Linked DNA regions of Homo sapiens: regions 2 and 3 are each linked to region 1. The links are contacts of gene promoters, found by promoter capture Hi-C in blood cells and fetal thymus (Javierre and others, 2016). All regions are on one chromosome and are shown on one strand. Each heading gives the region's core, a stretch centred on a gene start or on the middle of the fragment in contact. The rest is flanking DNA. Distances are from core to core; before and after follow the strand shown. Region 1 holds the start of ROR2 (receptor tyrosine kinase like orphan receptor 2). Region 2 has its middle 28 kb from the start of LINC02957. Region 3 has its middle 7.2 kb from the start of LINC02957.

Region 1 (3,490 bases), core at 397-2,896:
GGGTTTGTGGGGCCTCAGTCATGTGAAAATAACACACAGATGGGGGCATGATGAGGTCATTTTCCTGAAGGTCACACAAAAATAAATGGCAGGGCTGCTGATGAAATGGTTCTGGAGCCACATGCTCACGCTGTGTGAAGTGGAAAGCAAAGGTGCTGGGACCACCTTCTCCGAGCTGCACAGCACCACGGAAAGGACACAGCATTGCTGAGGGAGGGGTTTTCCAGGGCAGGTTCAAGACCCTTCTCTGCAGCCCCTGTTGGGTTTTCCCTAGATCCAGAAGAGAGGGGTGTGGAACTAAGTGCTTCAGCACCTACTCTTAAAACATTACTCTAAAAGCATCCTTAAGGATTCTAAGGGAAGCTAAAGGGAGGAAAACCCCAAAGATAAACCCCTGGCAGTCCTCTAACCACTGGGGAGAGCAGCCCCCCCGTTCAGACCCGCACCAGCCTGGGCAGAGGAACAGCCTGAGCCCGTCTAAGAAGTTTGGTAATAATTTTGCCATCCAGTTGAGGAGGGGCTAGGATCTTCTCCCATTCTCCTACTGGATTTACAGCAGCTCCTGGGAATGAGAACTGCGTGAGATATTTCCCTACACAAATTGGGTAGAGATAGCCGGACGCCTAAATACTTTTAACAGAGGTAACAAGCTAGAGCTGGCTTAGTCATTTTGTCCGCAGACCATAGCAAGAGAGTTTTTATTTCTGGCCACGTCTGAGGCCTCACGTCTGGCACCCAAGGCCAGGGCTCTCCCTAATGCCCTCCAATTAACAGAGCTTGGTACTCCAGCAAAAACACCAAACAAACTGCTGGATAATCAGTTAAAAGATCAATCTCATGGAACAAGCAACTGAGATGCTGGAGAATCCAATTCCTTCCTCTAAGAGGAAAAACAAAGACATTTGCATGTGCTGAGCAAAACCAAGAATAAGCAAGAAAACATGCTATTTGAATTCCGTTCAAAATGTCTCTAATAAGTGAAGCAAATTCTGCACATTCTGGGCCTCTGCAGAGAACAAATAGTGTTCTGCCTTTAATGGGTAAAATTATACAATTTGCTTTTAACAGTAAACCAAAAGCCGCGGTGGCTTCGGATAGCATCGCGCTCCCGAGGGCTCCCTCCACGCAGCTCGACCCCTGGCAGTTTTGAGCATTTCGGGGGACGCGCTTGTCCCCACCGACCTGGGAGGGCGCCGGTGCCAAGGCGGCCTGTTTGTTTTCCTGAACATTTCCTTTTGCAACTTTCGCTTCTCCTCTTCCTGCCTCACCGCTGGTGTCTGGGGCTGGGTGGCTCTCAGATTTGTCCCGGTGCGCAGTGCAGCCTGGAGTTACTGATTTGTGACCTAGATCCCCGGGTGTGTCGCCCCCGAAAGTCGGGGGCACCCGCTCTGGGCGCCTCTCCTGCGTGGGCAGACCCGCCGAACTCCGGCTGACGCCCCCAAGGCGCCACCTTTGTGTTCAAGCGTTCCGAGGCGCAGGCCCGAGGGCGGGCGCAGGAGGCAGGTCCGGGGCCCCAGCTGCAGCCCCAGCTCCTTGGGTCCCGCCCGCCGCCCGCGCGTTCCCCCGGCAGGGGGCGCCGGCGCAAGCCTCGCTCTGCCCATCGGGGCGGGCGAGCGGGGACCCTGCCTCCTGCGCGCTCGCCCGCGGTCCGCCCCCCGCGCTCGTCCTGGCGGCCGGCGGGACGCCCCAGCCCGCGCCAAGGAACCTCCCCAGCCAGCCCTTGCCGTGGCCGGAGCCGAGCGGCGCATCCGGGCCGGAGAAGAGGACGACGACGAGGTCCTCGAAGTGGACCCGTTTGCGAAGCGCCAGGGAGAAGGAGGAGCGGACGCATCGTAGAAAGGGGTGGTGGCGCCCGACCCCGCGCCCCGGCCCGAAGCTCTGAGGGCTTCCCGGCCCCCACTGCCTGCGGCATGGCCCGGGGCTCGGCGCTCCCGCGGCGGCCGCTGCTGTGCATCCCGGCCGTCTGGGCGGCCGCCGCGCTTCTGCTCTCAGTGTCCCGGACTTCAGGTAGGATCTGGCGTTCCGGCTTGTGCGCAGACGGTAGCTCACGGCTCGCTTGGCCAGCCCTTCCGCCGCCACTATGCTCCCGGCCGCTGCGCCGGCGCCCATGCTCCTGAACGAGGGGCGCCAGGCAGGGCCATTCGCATCTCGCCCGACGCCGCTCCCGGCCCGCACCCCGGACCCCCTCGGGCTGGTTACAATAAGCCGCGCTCTGGGGACGCCTAAGTGTTTCCAGAGTCTGGGGGCGGGCGGCGGCGGCTGGGAGCCTCTCGGTGGCGCTTCCCGAGGGTCGCGAGTGGGAGTGCGAGTGTGAATGTGAGTACCCGCCCTGGGCCCGGGACCCGAGTCCGCAGATGTGCCCCGAGGGTCCCAGGACCCGGGCTTCCTCCCCGAGGTCTTCCTCCTTCAAGGGCACACGGCCCCGAGTGTCCCCCGTCTGTCTCGGAGCGTCCCCCCACCCCCAGGGCGGCCTGATGCCTGGCAGAATCCTGGGGTGGACGTGGCCCCGGAGAAGCGGCTCTTGCGGCGGGGGTGGGGGCGCCGGCGGCTCCCGGGTCCTGACTTTCCCAGCCCGCGGGCCGCTTGATGGAAACGGGCTCTTTGGCATCCCTTTTGTTGGTCCCTGAAACCTCCTCTCCCCCACCGCTCTGGGGTGGCCGAAGTGGTGTGTGATCTGGATTGAAATGGTTTGTGACTGGGATCGCGGGTCCCTGAGCGGCTGGGGCGCGGCCGCCTTCTGGCCGCGCCGGGGGGACCCCCGGGACCTGTAGGAGGCTGGCGGCGGGAGGGGCGGGGCCCGGCTCCTAGGTGGGTTTCCTCCCGGGGCCCCACTTCCCCCGAGTCCCTGCGCGGTTTCGGCTGCTTGGATCCGGGGCGCAGAGGAACGGCGGGGAGGTTCGGAAGTGCAGCTTGGGACCTGCCTAGGTTGCCTGGAGGAGGCGGCGTTAGCTCTGGCGGTGCAGACTCCGGGAGCACCTCCCGCCCGCGCGCCTCGGGCCGGATTCTCGGCACCCTGCGGGGGTGGAGGAGGGCGGGCGGGGCCTTCAGGCCCAGGAGCGCCAGAGACCTATGGGGTTCGCCTGAAGCCCCCGGAATGTGTGAGACACTTCTTACTAGTAAATGGGCTTCAGTATCCCCCATCCCTGCACTCCTGCAGGAAGGTGAGAATCGGGACAGTCGCAGGCTGGGAGACGCTCTGCTTTTCCTGCGTCCTGCTGGGAGCTGCGCGCTCCAGGTATCCTGGCCTGCCGCCCTAGCCGGCCCAAGGTACGCGAGTCAGAAAGGCTGCACAGTCTTTCCTGGGGGGGGGTTTTAGTTTAAGCAGATGTTGATTACGTCAGACATTCCTAATTACTTGATTTGGGAAGGGAGCTTGCGTTTATCTCACTGTGCATTAAAGCATAAACCGCTCAGAGTGCACAATAAAATAAGTAGACCACATTCTAAGTTGGTATCCATCACTCAAGACCTCTGTCGATTTCTGCAACCC
Region 2 (3,490 bases), core at 450-2,949, 980 kb after region 1:
AAATTTCACTGAAGATTGTTTTGCCCAAGCTTGATTTCCTTCATGCCCATAAGCTCTTAGACACCACTTTCTGTTTTTCTATTTTCAGACTGAATTGAACAAAAATATTTAACTTTTACTCAGTGCTAAGTCTTTGCTTTCACTTTAAAATACATGATCTTTTCCAAACCATACACATATATTTTAATGGGTTGTTACTAGTTCATACTTGATCCATATTTTGTAGCTGAAAAAGTCCAAAGGCTGGAAGGTTTGGTTTCCAGAGCCCTGGACATCCTTGGAGGCAAATGCAAGCCCACTGTAATGAAGCAAGAAGGGAGTCTGGCTGTACTGGGTGCAGCCTGGTGCTGAGGCCTGGCCCTTTGATTTCTATGTGTGGGAATGCTCAAGTTGTAACTACTCTAAGTGGAAATTAGGAAAATGGGGACCCTGGGGGGATGGTGATCCAAGTTGCCAATTGTCCTTTAGGACTGTCATTGTTTTTTCTCACATTCTTGTCTTAGATTCTGCAGATGTGGTGATGTGGCGGGAGTAGTTAATAGCAGTAGTCATGGTATTTAACATCTGTGAAATCATACACACTTGGTAACCTTATGTTGATTCCACACCACACCATCTAATCACCATTTTCTCTTTCCTTTTTTCCTTCTCTCTTTCTCCCTCCCTCCTTTTTTCCTTTTCTTCTTCTATTCCCTGTTTTTTAAAGGCAATGTTGACATCATGATGGTCAGTAAAAAACAAACATTTACTCCAGCTTAAACAGCCCACCAAATAAGAATCCTTGAGTTCTGATTAAGTTCTGTATCTTACTCATTTACAAAATAAGAATGACAAAACTCCTCTCGGGGGTGTTATGGGCATTAGACAGATATTAGGGATGATGGTTAATTACAAGCAAGGCTGCTCCTATGGCCAGGAATAAAAACGCTTGTACCTACTTAACAGGCTGGCATGATTCATGTCTGGTGAGTTCACCCTTTGATTCAGGTGCCAGGTGTGATCAGCTCTTTCATATACATTATCCAATTAGTGGGATGAGCCTCTCGGCTGGCAAGTTCTGCTGGCTGCTCACTGCAGGCTCTTCAGGGTTGTCATGGAGACCATTGGAGCAGATGCCTTAAGCTGGCTGAGGTGTTTCTGAAAGATGGGAATCCCGGCTGGGGGACCCCAGATTCTAAACGAGGGCCATGTGACCTGAAGAAGATAACCCCCAAATCCCAGACTCCTACAAAGCCAGAGTGTCTAGCCAACATCGCAATAGTCAAGCATGCCACCACATGGCTCACAGGGAGAAGGCGTTCTGAACTCCCCCGGCTCATCTCTGGGTGTCTAACTGCACGCGGAAGCCAGGTGCTGGCTGCTGTGTTCCCAAGAGGCTCAGCCTAAGCTAGGAAGGCCAAAGTCAACTGAGGTAGGGCTTGGTGGGAAGTCTGTACCCTCTTTGGGGCAGCATTGGAAGAATGAATTGACTCAGACTTTCCAGTTGCACCTCAAGCCAATGTGGTGGGTGAGGCTGGCCCTAGAGGTGGACCCAGTAAGCACTGGAGAGTCAGCACAGGAGGCTTCTGGAGGTCCCCAGGGTCTCCTTTGCCACAATTGACACAAATCTGTTGATCAGACTGGCAAACCAGGCTCTTATAGAGTATGTCCTTCCTGGTAATGGTAATGGTTAGGACCCTTTTTTGAGTTTCTATTAAGTGCCAGGCACTGTGCTTCACCTACATTCTTTCACTTTACCCGCACGTTAACCCTAGGCAGCAAGTAATAGGGTATCTAATTTTTAGGTGAAGAAACTGAGGCCCCCACATAGCTATTGGCAGAGCTGGGATTTGAACCCAGTTGTATCTGGCTCTAAAGACTAACAGACTGTTACAGAGAACCAATGACCAAGAAACAGTGGACATTCAGTCCACAGCATTTGTTTCTTACAATCTTGCTCATTTAGAGACATCACTTATGCAAAGGGTAGAGAAAAAAAGATAACATTGTGGGTGGCACCAGCCAGTTAGTGTGGTTGCTGTGGCAACTTGTATCCCTGGTCCATAACAAGTGCTACCCCATAGCAATTCCCATGATCTCTGCTTCTTCATGGGAAACCAAGAAGATAAATGTATTAGTGCAGGACAGAGATAGCCAACTGTTCCCAACATCCATTCATCTTTTCTTCCTTTTAGGAATAGAAACCCTCAGAATTTTAATTGCATGCCTAGACTTTCATCTAGAGACTGCATTTCCTAGACTCCTTTGCTGCTAGACATGTCCATGTGACCAAGTTTGGGCCAATGAGATGAGAAAAGAAGCGATGTGTGCCTTAGGAAAAAAGGGAAATGTCCACTACTTCCTCCCCCTGACCCCTCAATCTAGGAAATTGGAGTAGTTGCCTGGAACCCAGAAATAGAAGCCATGTGTTGAAAGTGGCAGAGTAGTCACACTGGCCCAGGCTGTTTGCCTTTGTCGTCTTGTATTTGAGGGAAATAAATGTATTTCTGCCACTGTATTTTCAGGCCTTTGTTATAGCCATGCAGCCTATATCCCAACTCATGTAGTCCAATGGTGAAAGGTGACCTAAAATGGATCATTACTATAAGAGAATTCCCATTGTTTCCCTGCCTCCCCACTCAATGTTAAAACACTGAATATCTTTCAATGTCTGACTCCATGTGAGGGGCCTTTCTTTACAAAGCCCAGTTAATCAGGGCCAGGTGGATTCACTAAATGCATCCACGAAAGAGCAGATTAAGGAGATTGCAGAAGCAATGCAGGGTATGGCACTGACTTCTCTGTTAACAAGCCAGGGTGCTTGTTTGACTCTCATTTAAAAGATAAAGCCCAATCTTCATTTTTATCTTAAATAATCACTGGGAAGAAATTGTATGCATCTAGGACATACCTGGAATAAATAATAAATGGGCTTTCTTCATTTGATCTAGAGAACACAGAAGGCAGAAAGAAAAAAAAAACACGTGAAGAGAAACATAAAGCAACTTTTCTTTGAAATGTAAATGGAAGTGTGTGTGGCCTGGTAGAAGCAGCTCTGGGCGGGGGCGGGGGGTCTGGAAACCCAGGTTCCAACTCCTACTCAGAGCCTCACAATGTGTAAAAGGAGAAAGGGAGGGTCCTAAGTCCCTTCCCACGTCACCATGGTCAGATTCTGGGGAAGCTCGCATTTTCCAAAGCTGACGTCAACATCTCCCATCTCACGAGCTCTTCTACAATATGGGCCTTCCCTTCCCTTCCCACAAGAGTAGGGGAGACTAAAGCCCTTCCCTTAGATCTGGCCTAGCTGTCATGACACATGGCTCCCCAGGTCAAAGGAGGCCATGTAGCTTTTACGTGGGGACCTGGAAATCATAGTCTTCAGAAGCTTTCTGTCTGGGTCATGCTGTGAGAAGCTGGAGGCATGGGAAAGGCTGCATGCAGGTTCTCTGGTGCATGGTCCCAAGGAGCCCAGCCTCATGCAGGAGAGCAGCTTCTAGATGATTCCAGCCCC
Region 3 (3,490 bases), core at 585-3,084, 960 kb after region 1:
TATGTGTGGGAATGGATCTTAAGGGTGTGGCATCAAAGTGGAAGGAATATAAAGTTGTATCAGTCTGAAATTACTGATACAGGCTCACTGAGAGTATGGACTCAGTGTTTTAAAGTGATGGGTTAGAAAGGACTCTAATAGTTTGATTGGTTGACTGAGATATGTGTGTTAAAGACTCTGCCAGTGAAGTCTCAGAAAAAAGTGAGGAGCATTATAGAAAAAGCTGAATCACTTTAAACAGATTGCTAGTAGAAATCTGGACTTTAAGGATACTACTGACATGGGCCAAGAAGGAAGTGAGAAACACGTTATTGGAAACCTGAAGAAAAGAGATCCTTGTTATATAATTGCAGAAAGTTTAGTGAAATTGTGTCCAGTTGTTACATAAAAAGCAGAACTCATAAGTAATAAACTGGAATATATAGCTAAGGAAATTTCCAGGCAAAGTGTTGAAGGTGCTGCTTGTTTTTTTCTTGCTTTTTATGTTAAAATGTAATAGAAGAGAGACATATTGAAGGAAGACTTATTGAAGGGACAACGACTTGATAATTTCAAAAGTTTAGCCTCTCCAGGTGGCAAAAAATACCCCTAGAAGTCAGAGATGGATGCCAAAATTATGACATAGAGAAAAGGCTGAATATGTGTTTGTGCAGCTCTTTGCTGAAACCCTGGAAAGCTCAGAGGTCTTGTGTATTCAGCCACATAATGACTCTTCCAAGGGATTAAGAGTGTTCCATGTAGATCTTCTAATCAAACCAGAGAGCCTCTGGGAAGCTTAAAAACACTGGTGTTCAGCACTCCAAGCAGAAGCCAAAGATAGAGAAGAGATTATTAGAGAAAGATTTGTGTGTATAGCTTTTGTCTAATGCAGAGAAACCCAGTGAAAATACACACAAGGCCCACACACTTTAGAAAAAAACATTGTATTAGTGGAAATATTTTAGCAAAACAGATTAGCAGAAAATAAAGATGCCAACTAGGACTAAATGGAATATAGATATTACAAAATGGCAAAAGCAGACTGATAAAATTCCCCAGCTGCAAACACCTGTCACCTTTTGTGAAAAACGGAGCATGACTCTAAGAGCTAAAGCAGGAGCCCAGAAGTTGAAGATGAAAGCCCAGAGCAGCTGAGAGACACAGGTTACCTGGCTTTGAGACCTGGTGGATTTTGCCCAGCTGGGTTTCAAAACAGATTGAAACAAATGACTCCTTTTTACCTTCCATTTCCCCAATTTTGGACTTGAGTTCTATAACTGTTATTCTTTCCACCATTGTGTGTTGGGAGTATTGGAGAAAGATACCTTGTGTCTTTTATTTCACAGGTGTGTAGGTGGAGACAAATTGTGCCCCTGGAGCTGTACTTAATGGGTGACACTCAGAAGCTTTATCTACACCTGATTCAGATAAGTAGATAATGAGTTTTGGGCTTTTGAGCTGGTGAGATTCTGGACTTTATCTAGTGTGATAATGGGATGAGACTGTTGGAAACCTTGGGGAGCAGGTAAATGTTTTCTGCAAGTGAGAGTGAATTATGGGGCCAGAGTTTGTACTCTGGTGGACAGAACTGTAGGTGGCCCTAATGATCTCTGCCCCCATTGCAGCATCCATGATTAGGTTAAGTGATATAGCAAAGAAATCCTGCCTATGTGGTTACGGTCACTAATGAGTTGATGTTAAAATAAAAATATAATCTGGGTGGGCCTAACCTAACCATATGAGCCCTTTAAATATAGAGTTTTACATAGATGGACCTGGAATCATTATCATAAGTGAAATAACTCAGAAACGGAAAGTTAAATACTGCATGTTCTCACTTGTAAGTGGGAACTACACACTGGGTATGCATGGACATATAAAGTGGAATAGCAGATGTTAGAGACTCCAAAAGATGAGGAGATGGGAATGGGGTGAAGGTTAAAAAACTACCTATTTGGTACAATGTTCACTATTTGAGTGACGTGTACGCAAAAGTCCAGATTTCACCATGATGAAATATATCCACATACATGTAACAATACTGCACTTGTACCTCCTAAATCTATTTTTTTAAAGTGGAGTTTTATCTGATTGGTAGAAGAAGAGGAAGTCAGAGAGATTCCAAGTATGAGAAGTATTTGATGAACAATTACTGGCTTTGAAGATAGAGGAGGCCATGGAGCAAAGAATGCAAATGGCCTTAGGAGCTGAGAATGGCCCTTGACTGACAGCTAACAAAGAAATGGAGAAGTCAGTCAAGCAATAGCAAAAAATGGAATTCTCCCATCAACCTGAACAAGCTTAAAAGCAGACTCTTCCTCAGAACCTTGGTTAGAGCCCAGCCCAGCCAAAATTTCAGCCCTGAAAGACCCTAAGTAGAGACCCCAGTTGAGCCCACTTGGACTTCTGACCTACAGAACTGTGAGATAATGAATGGAAGTTGTTTGAAGCCATTAAGTTTATGGTAATTTGTTACACAACAATAGCCAACTAATAGACTCCATAATCCCAACAAACAACCTTAACTTCCATAAACAACTATTTATTGAACACTTACTGTACTTAAGGTATATGAAAGGGACATAAAGAGATAGCAACTATAAAAATGTAATTAGCTAATATTTATGGAGCAGTTCTACAATGTGCCATATAGTCTCCTGATTATGTGTGAATTATCTCATTTAATCTCCACAATCTGTGAAGGATGTAGTAGTTTATTACTAACAAAGGAGTAGAAACATGAAGGGTACGTAGATTGTCTAAGGTTTATTTATAAAACACGACAGACAGTAAGCACAACCAGTATAATTTCCGTATTTTCTGGGGTAGTGCTGATTTAAAATATTCGGTCTTCTTGCCTCCTGATTGCATTTATAATTGTCAAACCACATTCCTGGGTCTGTGGTTCAGAAAATATGGTCATCCTGCTTATAAAATAAAGACATATGTACCATAGGAGCCCTGACTCTCAAGGCAGCCATCTGTGTCCAGTGCAATGGGTCAAACATAGAGTGTTTCTTTAGTAAACACCACAAACTTGCTGTCTGCATGCTTCCTTAGAGGACACAGCGACTAATTGATGGTCAAATGGCATCCTTCAGTGAAGATTGGGATTGGGCAAAACTGGGATAAACACTGGAACCTGTTTTAGTTATCTATTGCTGAGTCATAGGAACCTCAACAAGCCAGTAATGGCTTAAAACTCATGATTTTGTGTGTCTGAAATATTTCAGGGGCTTGTCTGGGGTGGTTCTTCTCTGCTCTGCCTGGCTAGGACTGTCACTTGATGCTGCTCCTTGCTTTTCCCTCTCCACGTGACATCCTCATCCTTCAGGGCCTGTCAGTGGAACCTGGACTACTCACAGGTTGGTGGTCTTCAGATCGCCATACCTCTTTCATGGCGCTTGGCTTTCACAAAGCAGGAAGTGAAAGTTCCCAGACCTGTTAAGGACAACCACGAGTGGAACAGCATTCTCTCTGCTGTGTTCTATTGGACAAAGTGGTCAAAGGG

The links. Contacts are between HindIII fragments. The CHiCAGO score rates a contact against its expected background, and 5 or more counts as called.
Region 2: a contact is called between a fragment that was not itself captured here and the fragment with the promoter of ROR2 in region 1, in 1 of 17 cell types (M2 macrophages). The highest score is 5.6, in M2 macrophages.
Region 3: a contact is called between a fragment that was not itself captured here and the fragment with the promoter of ROR2 in region 1, in 1 of 17 cell types (M1 macrophages). The highest score is 5.4, in M1 macrophages.

Annotation. Positions count from the first base shown.
Region 1 is chr9:91,948,384-91,951,873 of GRCh38, reverse strand. ROR2 (receptor tyrosine kinase like orphan receptor 2) reads left to right here and starts at 1,646. Exons shown (of 9, transcript NM_004560.4): 1 at 1,646-2,007. The coding sequence starts at 1,911. RefSeq lists silencers at 1,073-1,367, 1,481-1,660 and enhancers at 1,854-2,353, 2,354-2,855. The HindIII fragment of the contact is 6,243 bases long and covers 1-3,490 here.
Region 2 is chr9:90,967,025-90,970,514 of GRCh38, reverse strand. No RefSeq gene overlaps it. Among named protein-coding and RNA genes, the nearest start is that of LINC02957, 28 kb to the left of the region's middle. The HindIII fragment of the contact is 3,335 bases long and covers 32-3,366 here.
Region 3 is chr9:90,988,104-90,991,593 of GRCh38, reverse strand. No RefSeq gene overlaps it. Among named protein-coding and RNA genes, the nearest start is that of LINC02957, 7.2 kb to the left of the region's middle. The HindIII fragment of the contact is 894 bases long and covers 1,388-2,281 here.